3 separate regions of the Homo sapiens genome follow, and all the other regions are linked to region 3. Evidence: promoter capture Hi-C in 16 types of primary human blood cells and fetal thymus (Javierre and others, 2016). All regions are on one chromosome and are shown on one strand. The core of a region is centred on a gene start or on the middle of the fragment in contact, and the rest is flanking DNA. Distances in the headings are between cores, read along the strand shown.

Region 1 (4,541 bases), core at 768-3,267, 790 kb after region 3:
AATTATAAAAATTAATATATATATTTTCAAAAATTTAAGTAGGACCCAAATGGAGCCCTTTGTCCCCCCAAGTCCTCTGGTACCACATCCCATACATTAACCCAGATGTCATATCATTTCATCCAGGTATATTTTAGTGTGTATCTCTAACCACAACACAGTGATCACACTAACAAAAATTAACAATTGTTTCTTAATATAAAATATTGAATTAATATTCAGATTTCTCTGATTTTCATAACTTTTTTTCCTAACTATTTTTTCACTTCTTTTCTTTTTTGAGACAGAGTTTGTCTCTGTCACCCAGGCTGGAGTGCAGTGGTACGATCTTGGCTCACTGCAGCCTCTGCCTCCTGGGCTCAGGCGATTCTCCTGCCTCAGCCTCCTGAGTAGCTGGGATTACAGGTGCACGCCATCATGCCCAGCTAGTTTTTGTATTTTTAGTAGAGACGAGGTTTTGCTATGTTGGCCAGGCTGGTCTCAAACTCCTGACCTCAGGTAATCTGCCTGCTTTGGCCTTCCAAAGTGGTGGGATTACAGGTGTGAGCCACCATGACCGGCCCCTAACAATTTTTTCAAATCAAAATCCAAATAAGCTCTATACATGGCAATTGGTTGATGTCTTTTAAGTCTTTCTTTTTTTTCAAGGTAATGTGTCATTTTTTTGTAGTATTTTTGTGTTTCTTAACCTTTTACAAAAATAGACTTTATTTTTAAAGCTGCGTTTGTGTTAGAGTTCGCTCCTGGTATGCTGTACATTCCGTGTGTTTAGACAAATGAATAATGAACATGTGTCCACCACTAAAGTACCAATACAGAATAGCTTCACTGCCCCAACAATCCTCTGTGTTCCACCTATTCATTTCTTCCTCCTCCCTAAACCCTGGCTACTACTAATCCTTCTACTGTCTCTATAGTTTTGCTTTTTGCAGAATGTCATATGGCCTTTTTAATTAACGTCTTTTTTTTTGAGACAAGGTCTTGCTTTGTCGTGCAGGTTGGGGTGAAGCGCTGGGATCTCAGCTCACTGCTGAGCCTCTACCTGCTAGGCTCAGGTGATCCTCCCATCTCAGCCTCCCAAGTAGCTGGGACTACAGGTGTGCACCACCACACCCAGCTAATTTTTTCTTTTTTTTTTTTGGGTAGAGATGAGGTTTTGCCATGTTGCCCAGGCTGTTCTCTGACTGCTGTGCTTAAGCAGTCCGCCCACCTTGGTCTCCAAAAGTGCTGGGATCGCAGTTGTCAGCCACTGTGCTCAACTTCTTTTACTTAGTAATATGCATTTACATTTCCTCTGTATCTTTTCATGACTTGATAGCTCATCTCTTTTTAGCACTAAATAATATTCCATTATCTGGATATACCACAGTTTATCCATTGCTGCCTTTTTTGGGGGGATTTATAATATACCTGCTATAAACATCTATGTGCCGGTTTTTGCATGTACATAAGTTCTCAATTCATTTGGGTAAATACCAAGGAGTGCGATTGATGGATCATATAGGAAGAGTATGTTTAGTTTTGTAAGAAACTGCCAAGCTTTCTTCCAAAGTGGCTGTGCCATATTGCATTCCTATCAGCCATGGATAAAAGTTCCTGTTGCTCTATATCCTTGCCAGCATTTGGTGGTGGTAGCATTTTGGGTTTTGCCATAATAATGGTATGTGGTAGTATCACATTGTTTTAATTGGTAGTTCTCCAATGATATAGCATGCTGAGCATCTTCTCATGTGCTTATTTTCCATTTACATATCTTTGGTGAGGTGCCTGTTCAGGTCTTTTGCCCATTTAAACAAAATGAATTGTTTTCTTACTGTTTAGTTTAAAGAGTTTTTTTTTTTTTTTTTTTTTTTTGAGACAAAATTCCCCCAGGCTGGAGTGCAATGGCACTATCTTGGCTCACTGCAACCTCTGCCTCCCAGGTTCAAGCGATTCTCCTGCCTCAGCCTCCCGATTAGCTGGGATTACAGGCGCCTGCCACCATTCTCGGCTAATTTTTGTGTTTTTAGTAGAGACGGGATTTTCATGTTGGCCAGGCTGGTCTCGAACTCCTGACTTCAGGTGATCCGCCTGCCTTGGCCTCCCAAAGTGCTGGGATTACAGGCATGAGCCACCGCACCTGGCCTAAAGAGTTCTGTGTATATTTTTGGGTAATAGTACTTTATTGGATATATTTTCTATAAGTATTTTATTTCAATGTGGCTTGTCTTTTCAATCTTTCAGTCTTAAGACTCTTAATTTTTATGTTCACCCTCCCTCTCTTTTTTTTTTCCAGAGCATTAACTAAAGAAACTAAATTGTATATCCTATAGATTTTGCAGCTTGATCTGTGTGATATGAGATATATAGATCTATCTGTTTATCTATCTGTCCATATATGTTTTCATCCAGAATTCCTGGCTCATAACTCCCATAGCCCCTGTTATTTCTTAAGTGACTTAAACAATAAGCATATCTTTTGTTAAAGTATTTTGCCTTTTGTCTTTGGTTCCTGAAGAAGCTTTGAAACAGCTTCTGAGCAATAAAGGTGAAAGACAGTCTTTTGTTATAATGTTGGAGTACTTTAGATCTCAGAAGTAGGCCTCAGAAGACAGATCTCTCTCTCTCTGGCCTTCTCCTGGTCTTTGTTCACTTGCTCATTTTTCTCCCCAAGGCAGGCCATAGAAACTAAAAACATGCTCTAATCTTCCCCCGGCTTTCTGTCCACAAGCTGGCCATAAAGGAATTCTCTGACTTACATTGTCTGATTTTAGGTCATAAGACCCCCATTTCAAAATGGATCTTGTCCCATACCATGGAGGAAGCAATGCTGCACAGAGAGGCCAAGAAGAATCTGAACAAAACAGGCCTTACTGGGTTTCCCCACTCAATCTATTAGTATTAGATTATACCCTTTTTGTTCAGTCGCATTTCTGCATGTTTGTCCATACTTCAACATGCCTATCCAATGAAGTCTCCATCAAAAATTTAAGAAGATGGGGTTCCGAGAGCTTTTTGATTGCAGAACAGGTAGAAGTTCCTGGAGGTTAGTGTAGCCAGAGAGGGCACGGAAGCTCTGCACTCCTTCCTACATGCCTTGCCCTGTGCATCTCTTCATCTATACCCTTTGTGTATCCTTTATAATAAACTGAACATAAGTGTAAACCTAAGTGTATTCCTAGGTTCTGTGAGCTGCTCTAGGAAATTAATCAAACCCAAGGCAGGGGTCATGGGAACCATGATTTATAGCTGGTCCCATCAGAAGTGTTACTGGAAAGATGTCCTGATCAGAACCCAGGATAGGGTTTTTAGACCTCACCCAAGAAGGAATTTGAGGAGAGTCCTTAAAGTGAAAGCATTAGTTTATTAAGAAAGTAAAGAAAGAAATGAATCGCTACTCCATAGGCAGAGCAGCAGCATGGGCTGCTCGACTGAATATACTTATAGTTATTTCCTGATTATGTGCTAAAGAACGGTTAGATTATTCATGAATTTTCCAGAAAAGGAATGGGTAATTCCTGAAACTGAGGGTTCATCCCCTTTTTCGACCATATAGGGTAACTTCCTGATGTTGCCATGGCATTTGTAAACTGTCATGATGCTGGTGGGAGTGTCTTTTAGCGTGCTAATGCATTACAGTTAGCCTATAGTGAGCAGTGAGGATGAGCAGAGGTCACTTTCATAACCATCTTAGTTTCGGTGGGATCTGGCCGGCTTCTTAACCACATCCTGTTTTATCAGCAAGGTCTTTGTGACCCATATCTTGTGTTGACCTCCAATCTCATCCTGTGATTAAGGATGCCTAACCTCCTGAGAATGCAGCCCAGTTAATCTCAGCCTTATTTTACCCAGCCCCTATTCAAGATGGAGTTGCTCTGGTTCAAATATCTCTGACGGAAGCACAGGTAAAACAGCCTAGGGCTTGCAATTGGCGTCAGAAGTTGGAGGCGGGCAGCCTTGGGGACTGAGCCGTCAACCTGTGGAATCTGATGCTACGGATGGTGTCAGAATTAAATTGGAGAACACCCAGCTGGTGTCCACTGCAAAGTTGATTGCTTGCTTGGTGGAGTAAACCCCTATATATCATGGTATAAGAGCAGAGAAAAAACTGATTTTCTACATAATCAGATTGTTTTGTTTGTTTATTTTTCAGGGATAGTGTGTGCATCCATCAAGGAGCTCTTCTCTTTCTATCTCTTGCTCTCTTTTTTTGGTGTTATTAGCAGCCGTTGATGATCATTGCCAGTATCCATTTTTATTTATCTATAAAGTGGTGTAAACAAAAAATAAAATTCTAAGCCCCCCAACTGACTGATGGACCCCCCTCTAGGTTAAGGGAGTTTCAAACTAAACCTGAAAAACTAGTTCAGGCCATGAAGGGAATGGGAGGTTGGGCATGCATCATTATACCTTCCTCCCCTTGGAATTCAGACATAACTGACCAGCATTAACATTAAAACAGAGATCTTAAGACTGACAAAACAGACTTTGTAGCAATAAGATACCAAATTCCAATCTGACTCTAGTATAACATCACATGACAGATGGCAGGCCCTGAAAGA
Region 2 (3,998 bases), core at 1,454-3,953, 640 kb after region 3:
GTTTTTAACTTTTTCGCTGTGGACATTTTCAGGTATAAAAGGAGAAGAATATAATGAACCATCCATGAGTAGTTACTGCAGTCACTACCTCATGGCTACTCTTATTTTATCTATACCCTCCTACATTATTCACTCCCAGCTGTTTTAATTTCAAGCAAATCCCTTGATACTGTTTTGTTGATAATTCTAATATGTATCTCTAAAAGAGAACTCTTTACCAACATAGCTATTAGACCAATTTTACAGTTTAAAAATTAACACTAATTCTTTAATCACCTAATTTTGTATGTGGAAATCTTAATAAGGCACGCCTGCTTAGGCTTGTGTTGGCTGGAAACTTTGTGTCTGCAAATGAAGCCCAGTTTTGTGCTATGGTCAGATGAGGAGTCTGTGGTACCTCCCAGATTGTTTCAATGTAGCTTCATTATTCATTATTCACAATAAAGTCTCATAACATTTGCTGTATTCATGTTTAGATGGAAATTCTCTTAAATTCCAAATTATATTCTTGACTCTTCAACTCTATAACTTGCATTAGTTCAAGTAATTAAAAATTGTACTTTGGCCATGCACAGTGGCTCATGCCTCGTAATCCCAGCACTTTGAGAGATTGAGGCAGGAGGATCACTTGAGCCCAGGAGTTTCAGACCAGCCTGGGAATCACAGTGAGACCCTGTCTCTACAACAAATAGTTTTTTTAAAATTAGCTGGGCATGATCATGTACACCTGTAGTCTCAGCTACTTGGGAGGCTGAGGCAGGAGGATCATTTGAGCCCAGGAGGTTGAGGCTGCAGTGAGCTATGATTGTGCCACTGCACTGAAGCCTGGGTGACAGAGCAAGACCCTGTCTCAAAAAAAAAAAAAATTGTACTTTATTTAAAATACCTTGCTTTTAAAGGGAGTATTTAAAAGAGAAAGCTTTTGATTAATATGGGTAGATACTTGTAAAGGTTTTTTTGTTTGTTTGACTCTTTAAAAATTTTTTGGCTCTATTACAGCTTACTACAGCCTTGACTTCCCAGGCTCCAGCGATCCTCCCATCTCAGCCTCTGGTGTAGCTGGGACTACAGGCACGTGGCACCATGCCTGGCTAATTTACTTTGTATTTTTGGTAGAGACAGGGTTTTGCCATGTTGCCAAGGCTGGTCTCAAACTTCTGAGCTCAAGCGATCTGCCAAGGCTGGTCTCAACCTTCTGAGCTCAAGCAATCTGCCACCTCGGCCTCCCAAGTGCTGGGATTACAGGTGTGAGTCACCGTGCCTGGCCATTAAAAAAATTTAAAAAATTACAATTACAAAAATTAGCTGAGCATGGCGGTGCATGCTTGTAATCCCAGCTACTTGGGAGGCTGAGGCAGGAGAATCACTTGAACCCAGGAGGCGGAGGTTGCAGTGAGCTGAGATCGTGCGACTGCACTCCCACCTGGGCGACAGAGCAAGACTCTGTCTCAAAAAAAAAAATTGTAAAAAAACAAAATACTTCAAAATGTAAAGAGTACTATATCAGTGTAAAAAAACTGGAAAAGCAAATGGAGCTTCACCTAACTCAAATGGTGATTCTAGTAAACAAAATCAGCTAGGACGTATTTTCAGTCACAAATTCATGGATGCTGACATTTCTGATATTCCGTTGTAGCTTCAGAGCCAGGAAACATCAAACTTTTTTCTGGAGTAGTGGACACAACTATCCTGGTGGATGGTAGACTACTTGGATTTAGAAAAGATCTAGGGCTGGGCCGGGCGCGGTGGCTCAAGCCTGTAATCCCAGCACTTCAGAAGGCCGAGGCGGGCGGATCACAAGGTCAGGAGATCAAGACCATCCTGGCTAACATGGTGAAACCCCGTCTCTACTAAAAATACGAAAAATTAGCCAGGCGTGGTGATGGGCGCCTGTAGTCCCAGCTACTCGGGAGGCTGAGGCAGGAGAATGGCGTGAACCCAGGAGGCGGAGCTTGCAGTGAGCCAAGATCATGCCACTGCACTCCAGCCTGGGCGACAGAGCAAGACTCCATTTCAAAAAAAAAAAAAAAAAAAAAAAGAAAAGATCTAGGGCTCAAATATTGAGGATTTTCTTGTTTGTTTATTCACAAACATTTATTGAGTGTTGAAATGAAATGTGATTAGTTCCACTCTTCACCTAGTTTTGTGGACTCCCAAACTCTAGCAGATTATTTCACATTCTGATCTTTAGTTTCCATGTGTTCCTCTTACTATGGCTGTGTGGCAAACCACCCCAAAAACCAGTGGCTGGAAACAGCATTTATTTTGCTCACGAATTTGCATTCTGAGCAGGGCTCTGCGGAAGAGTTCATCTCTGTTCCACGTGGCATTAGCAAGGCGGCTTGAAGGTGGTGGGGGTGGAATTATCTGAAACAGCACTATAGATAGAGCTTTCTGCGATGATGGAAAAGATCTACATCTACCCTGTGCAATACAGTAGAATCTAGCCATACGTGGCTACCAAGTACTTGAAATGTGACTAGTATGGCTGAAAATCTGATTTTAAATTTAATTCAATTTCAATTTCATTAGCTGCATAGCTGCATATGACTAGTGGCCACGTATTGGACATTGAAAATCTGAAGGCTCACTGATAAAGTCTAATACCTGGGCTGGGAAGATTCTTCAGGTATACGTCTCTTCCTGACTTCTCCTCCCCTTCCTCCCTTCTCTATCCCCATCTCCCTCCCTCTCTCCCTTTCACTCTCTCTGTGTATATATGTGTGTGTCTCTGTGATCCTGCTATATGATCTCTCCTGCAGGTCCACCTGGATTTAAGTGGAGGGAACATAGGCCCCACCTCTGTTGGAGGAGTGACAGTGTCATGTTGTAAGCTGAACATGTGGATGGGATATAATGGTGTGGCCATCTGTGGAAAATACACTCTGCCACATATAAACTGTAAAGTGAATTGGCTGGCTAGGTGAGCTCAAAATTTTCTTCTAGTTCTAGGCAGTTTTAAAGAAAGAAACCAACTAGTATGTGTCAAATGTTCTCTTTTTTTCATCAGAGTAATAAATTATTAAATTATTAGAAGGCTACATAGTGAAAAATTGAATCTCTTGATCTAATTCTCCCTACTCATTCTATTACCCTGGGAAAACCGCTTTTAATCTAACTCTTATATTTTTACTTCTGTTAGTAATTTTTAGCCATATGCCTAAATAATATGCTTGTACTACTATTTCTTGATTCATCAGTTTTAGATGTTATATATCTAAAATTGCCTTTCTGCTATAACAGATAAGGTCATAGCTCATCATGTCATCCTTCCCACTCCTGCCCTGCCACACTTGTATCACAGTTTTGAGTTTATCTCTTGGTTATTTTTTCAATTTCTTCAATATATTTAAGGTTTTCTATTCTGTTCTATCAACTGGAGACACTATCTCTTTATTCCTGATGTAAGTGGAGAATATTAATAGTCCTTTCCTTTTAAAGTTTATTTTATTTTATTATTTTTTTTTTTTAGCAATGAGACAGACTATAAGTGAGTTTTAAGAACAGTGCATTTCTTGAGGGAATTGAAGAGAGGGTTTGTTTGGGTTCCAGTCTTGGGAGATCATGTGAAGCTACCATGTTTAACATCATAGAAAGCAAAGAAATCAGTTTTTTCCCTTGCATTTATGAGTACTGCCCTTGAAATTTTCTACTTTTGGCATTCTGATGGGCTACTTTTGGAATTCTGATGGGCTGCATCAAAATCTGTGGGGAACGGAGTGTTACCTGTACTTTTACTTTTATATTGTCAAGGTTGATAACATCTACATTCTGAGAGGCTGCATAGTATAATGGTTAAGCGTATGAACTCTGGAACCAGGCTATCTGAATTTGGATCCAGTTCTGCCACTTACTGGTTGTATGACCTTGGGCAAGTTAGTTAATCTCTCAATGCCTCAATTTCCTCATCTGTAAAGCAGGGATAATAACCATACTGTGCGAGTATTGTGAGGATTAGGTGTAAAGTATTTAGAGCAATGCCTGGCACGTGAGTGCAC
Region 3 (4,027 bases), core at 979-3,478:
GACAGCAGGCCCGGCGCGAGCGGTGGCCAACACCTCTCAAGCCTTTCGAGGTGTGCCGTCATCCACGCCCACCGTGGAGCCAACAGTGTCCTTCTCCCAACGCTGGAGAAACGGCTAGGGCATTAGCCTCAAAGGAGATTAAGGAATTGGATTTCGTAGAGATTGGATTTCGTGCGTGCTGTCTCCCATTCAGAGGCATTCCCAGAAAAACGACTCACAAAGACCACAACAGCAGCAGAGCAGGCGAGGTCTCAGTGCCCCCAGAGCTCAGCCAGGGCGAGGCAGGACGACTTCGGGGCAGGGCTCTCCTGACGTAGGGATTACAACAAAAGGGTTCATCCTGCATTTTTTGAAGGAGATGGCTAAGTAGGGTAAATCTGTGGTTAAGATCACAGACTTTGGAGTCGATTTTTTCCTCCTATTTTTGCGAGTCGGCCCCCTCTTCTCTGTCCCTGCTCCCAAGGCCCCCTCACCGCGCATACTGCCACAGCCGCTCGCAGCTCCCGTGGCCCACCTCCCTCTCCTCCAGGTTGCTGCCCCCGGGGTCTTTTTGAGCACATCAGATCATCTTGCTCAGAATACCCCGTGGCTACCGCCTCTAGGATAATGCCCAACGGCCTTGGTAGGATATTTGGTGCCACACACCCTCCAGTCTCCCCTCTAATCCCTAACCTACCTGCCTCCCCGCCCAGGGGCCCTGCTCTCTGCAGGCTCTACTGTGTCCTGGGCCCTCAGCTGAGAGACCAACCCGTCCTTCCAGGAAAATGCGAGCCTCACCAGGCAGGGTTATGCTCCCGCCCTCCTCCTTGTAATTATTACCTGACCCTCTGCCTCCTGCAACGCCAGGGCTGGAGGACAGGCTGGCCCCTATTCCTATGGGCACTGGCCAACATCCAACGCCTGGGACATAAACTGCACCCAATGGTATGTGAACTGTACTTTACAGTTTGCACGGTGTGTTCTGGTATTTGCTAAATCTTCACACATGCTCAGGTGGCAGTACGTTTTAATGATACAGGCGAGGGAACTGGGGCTCAGAAAGGTCTAGTGCCTTGCGCATGGGAGACTCAAGTGGTAGAACCGGTGGCCGGGCTCCGGGCTCTGAGCGGAAAGCCTGCAGGACTCGGAATCCTGAAGACCTGGGTTTAAACCCGCTCAGCTAGGGACTGGGTGAGGCATCGCAGGCAAGTGACTTCACCTCCCAGCGCCGGTGCCCTAGTCTTCACCGAAGACAGCAATTCCAATCTGGGACTGTGGTGAGGCTTAAATAAAACACTGCTCAGTAAGTGGCCAGCAGGCCTGGCTCGCAGCCGGAACTATAAATGTGAGTTCCCTTTCTGACCCCCAGGTTTGGCGAGGGCTCCTCCTGTTTGGGCAGCAGCTCCTCCTGAGCTCCCGAGGCCACGGGGGTGCCAACTGTGGAGCGCCCGCCGTGCCGTTTAGACGCGAGAGCTGCGTCGGGTACCAGCGATCCTTAAAGGAGCTCGGGGACCAGGGGCACAGCTTGGAGAGGACAGCGAGGGAGGTGACTGGCCTCGGGGAGGCGGGCGGTGGATGGAGAGGCATGAGAGGGGTGTTGTCAGCCGCGGCACACGCCTTCCCCAAGTGGCCGGCGCCGCCCCTTGCCACCACTTCACCTCCGCCTCTTCCCTTCCTCCCTAGCTCCTGGCAGCGTCTCTAGGGCCTCAAAAAGCAAGGAGGGTCCCCGGGCAGCGAGGCCCCATGGATCCAGCCTGCGCCTGCTCCCAAGGGCGCGCAGGTCCCGCCCCTGCCGGGCGCCCGCCCCCCGGGGAGCGCAAGCCCCCGCCCCTTCCCTCGCCCCTCCCCTGCACGGCGCCGGCTGGCTGGAGGCGGGGCATGCGCACGGGCCTGGGCGAGGGCGCTGGGCGGCGGGGAGGTGGGGCGCGCGCGTGCGGCTTCTCTCAGCCGGGAGCGGCGGGGGCGGGCACGGGCAGCAGCGGGCCGGCGGTGGGCGGGGAGCGGGACGCGGGAGCCGGGCGCGCGCCGCCAGCGCCGCCGCGGCACCGGTGACCGCGAGCCCGGAGCGCGAGGTCCGGGGATGCGAGCGGCCGGGAGCCGCCGCGCTGCTGAGCCGGGAGAACTCGATCCGCGGTGACCTCAGCGAGGGGCGAGCGCGGCGGCGGCGAGCCCCGCGGGAATCCTCGGGGCCGGGGTGCGGGGGGCGGGGACGGCGGGAGCGCGGGGCGCAGCCCGGGCGGGGCTGGGACAGTGATGAGAGAGCGCGCGGGGAGGCTGCACGCCGCCGCCGCCGCCGCCGCCGCCGTCGTCGTCCGGAGCATCTGCTGCCTGAGCTGCTGCCGGCGGACCCGGCCATGGAGACACTGAACGGCCCCGCGGGCGGAGGTGCCCCGGACGCGAAGCTGCAGCCGCCCGGCCAGCACCACCGCCACCACCACCTCCACCCGGTGGCCGAAAGGCGGCGGCTGCACCGTGCGCCCTCGCCCGCCAGACCCTTCCTCAAGGACCTGCACGCCCGGCCCGCCGCGCCCGGCCCGGCCGTCCCCTCCTCGGGCCGAGCCCCGGCTCCCGCCGCCCCGCGCTCGCCCAACCTCGCGGGCAAAGCGCCGCCCTCGCCGGGGTCCCTGGCCGCGCCCGGCCGCCTCTCTCGGCGCAGTGGCGGCGTCCCGGGCGCGAAGGACAAGCCCCCGCCGGGCGCCGGGGCCAGAGCGGCGGGCGGTGCCAAGGCTGCCCTGGGAAGCAGGAGGGCGGCGCGCGTGGCGCCCGCGGAGCCGCTGTCCCGGGCTGGGAAGCCTCCCGGAGCCGAGCCGCCGTCTGCCGCTGCCAAGGGCCGCAAAGCCAAGCGCGGCTCCCGGGCGCCACCCGCCCGCACCGTCGGCCCCCCGACCCCGGCCGCCCGGATCCCTGCCGTGACCCTCGCGGTGACCTCGGTGGCCGGGTCCCCGGCCCGCTGCTCGCGCATCAGCCACACGGACAGCAGCTCCGACCTCTCTGACTGCCCCTCCGAACCCCTGTCCGACGAGCAGCGCCTGCTCCCTGCCGCCAGCAGCGACGCCGAATCCGGCACGGGCTCCAGCGACCGTGAACCCCCACGAGGAGCGCCGACGCCGAGCCCCGCAGCCCGAGGAGCGCCGCCGGGCAGCCCCGAGCCCCCAGCGCTCCTCGCCGCGCCCCTCGCCGCGGGCGCCTGTCCCGGGGGCCGGAGCATCCCGAGCGGGGTTTCGGGGGGTTTCGCGGGGCCCGGCGTGGCGGAGGATGTCCGGGGGCGCTCGCCACCGGAGCGACCAGTCCCCGGGACCCCCAAGGAGCCCAGCCTGGGCGAGCAGTCTCGGCTCGTGCCAGCGGCGGAGGAAGAAGAGCTGCTGCGGGAGATGGAGGAGCTGCGCTCGGAGAACGACTATCTCAAGGTGAGCCGCGCCTCGGCCGCAGGTGTCCCGGGGCGCCCCCGGAGGGCCTGGCTGCGGCGGGGACCCGCCAACCCCTCCTTCCCGGGCCTGTCCAGCGCCTTCTCCCTCCTGCTCTCCACGGTCCTACCCCCGCATTGTCAGGCATTGGCAACTTAAGCCCAAACTTCTGGAAGGAGAAGCAAGACCTGTGGGACCCCGCCAGTTCGCAACCCACTTCTCTTTTCTCGCGTCTAGAACTCTTGCGTCTCTTCGCTGATACTTTTACTTTTGTTGACCTGTTGGGGCAGAGGAGGCTGTAATCGTTTTGGGGACATCAGCGGACGCCCCCATCCCCGCTCAGAACGTGCCAGCCTCACCTGTAGGAACAGGTGATCCTTCGCCAGGGAGCTCTAGCCGGGCCACGTGCGGGCGTGGCGGTTCAGGATAATGCCACTGGAGGGCCCCCGGCTACGGACCCGCTTGCCCCTTCTCCTGCAATTACGGAAAGAGCTGGGGGCTCTCAGGGTCTCCTGGGCTCCGACATCCCGGGTAGAGGGGGCCGCGCCGTTTTCGGTGAGCAAGCTGAAGCTCAGTAGAGGTCCTTGGAGTGTGGCCCGGGTTGAGGAGCAACGGTGTTGCGCGGGCCAGTCCTTTGTAAGCAT

What was found. Contacts are between HindIII fragments. The CHiCAGO score rates a contact against its expected background, and 5 or more counts as called.
Region 1: a fragment that was not itself captured here is called in contact with the fragment with the promoter of MTCL1 in region 3 in 1 of 17 cell types (activated CD4 T cells); the score reaches 5.8 in activated CD4 T cells.
Region 2: a contact is called between a fragment that was not itself captured here and the fragment with the promoter of MTCL1 in region 3, in 2 of 17 cell types (activated CD4 T cells and non-activated CD4 T cells). The highest score is 6.5, in activated CD4 T cells.

The regions. Positions count from the first base shown.
Region 1 is chr18:9,491,295-9,495,835 of GRCh38, forward strand. All of the region lies in intron 1 of RALBP1 (ralA binding protein 1), which reads left to right. Among named protein-coding and RNA genes, the nearest start is that of RALBP1, 18 kb to the left of the region's middle. The HindIII fragment of the contact is 961 bases long and covers 1,538-2,498 here.
Region 2 is chr18:9,338,353-9,342,350 of GRCh38, forward strand. The region is part of intron 2 of TWSG1 (twisted gastrulation BMP signaling modulator 1); the gene reads left to right. Among named protein-coding and RNA genes, the nearest start is that of TWSG1, 5.6 kb to the left of the region's middle. The HindIII fragment of the contact is 3,572 bases long and covers 918-3,998 here.
Region 3 is chr18:8,703,328-8,707,354 of GRCh38, forward strand. MTCL1 (microtubule crosslinking factor 1) reads left to right here and starts at 2,229. Exons shown (of 15, transcript NM_001395333.1): 1 at 2,229-3,386. The coding sequence starts at 2,334. It overlaps GACAT2 (gastric cancer associated transcript 2), which reads right to left. Exons shown (of 2, transcript NR_120598.1): 1 at 3,743-4,027. RefSeq lists silencers at 1,574-2,013, 2,394-2,453. The HindIII fragment of the contact is 5,801 bases long and covers 1-4,027 here.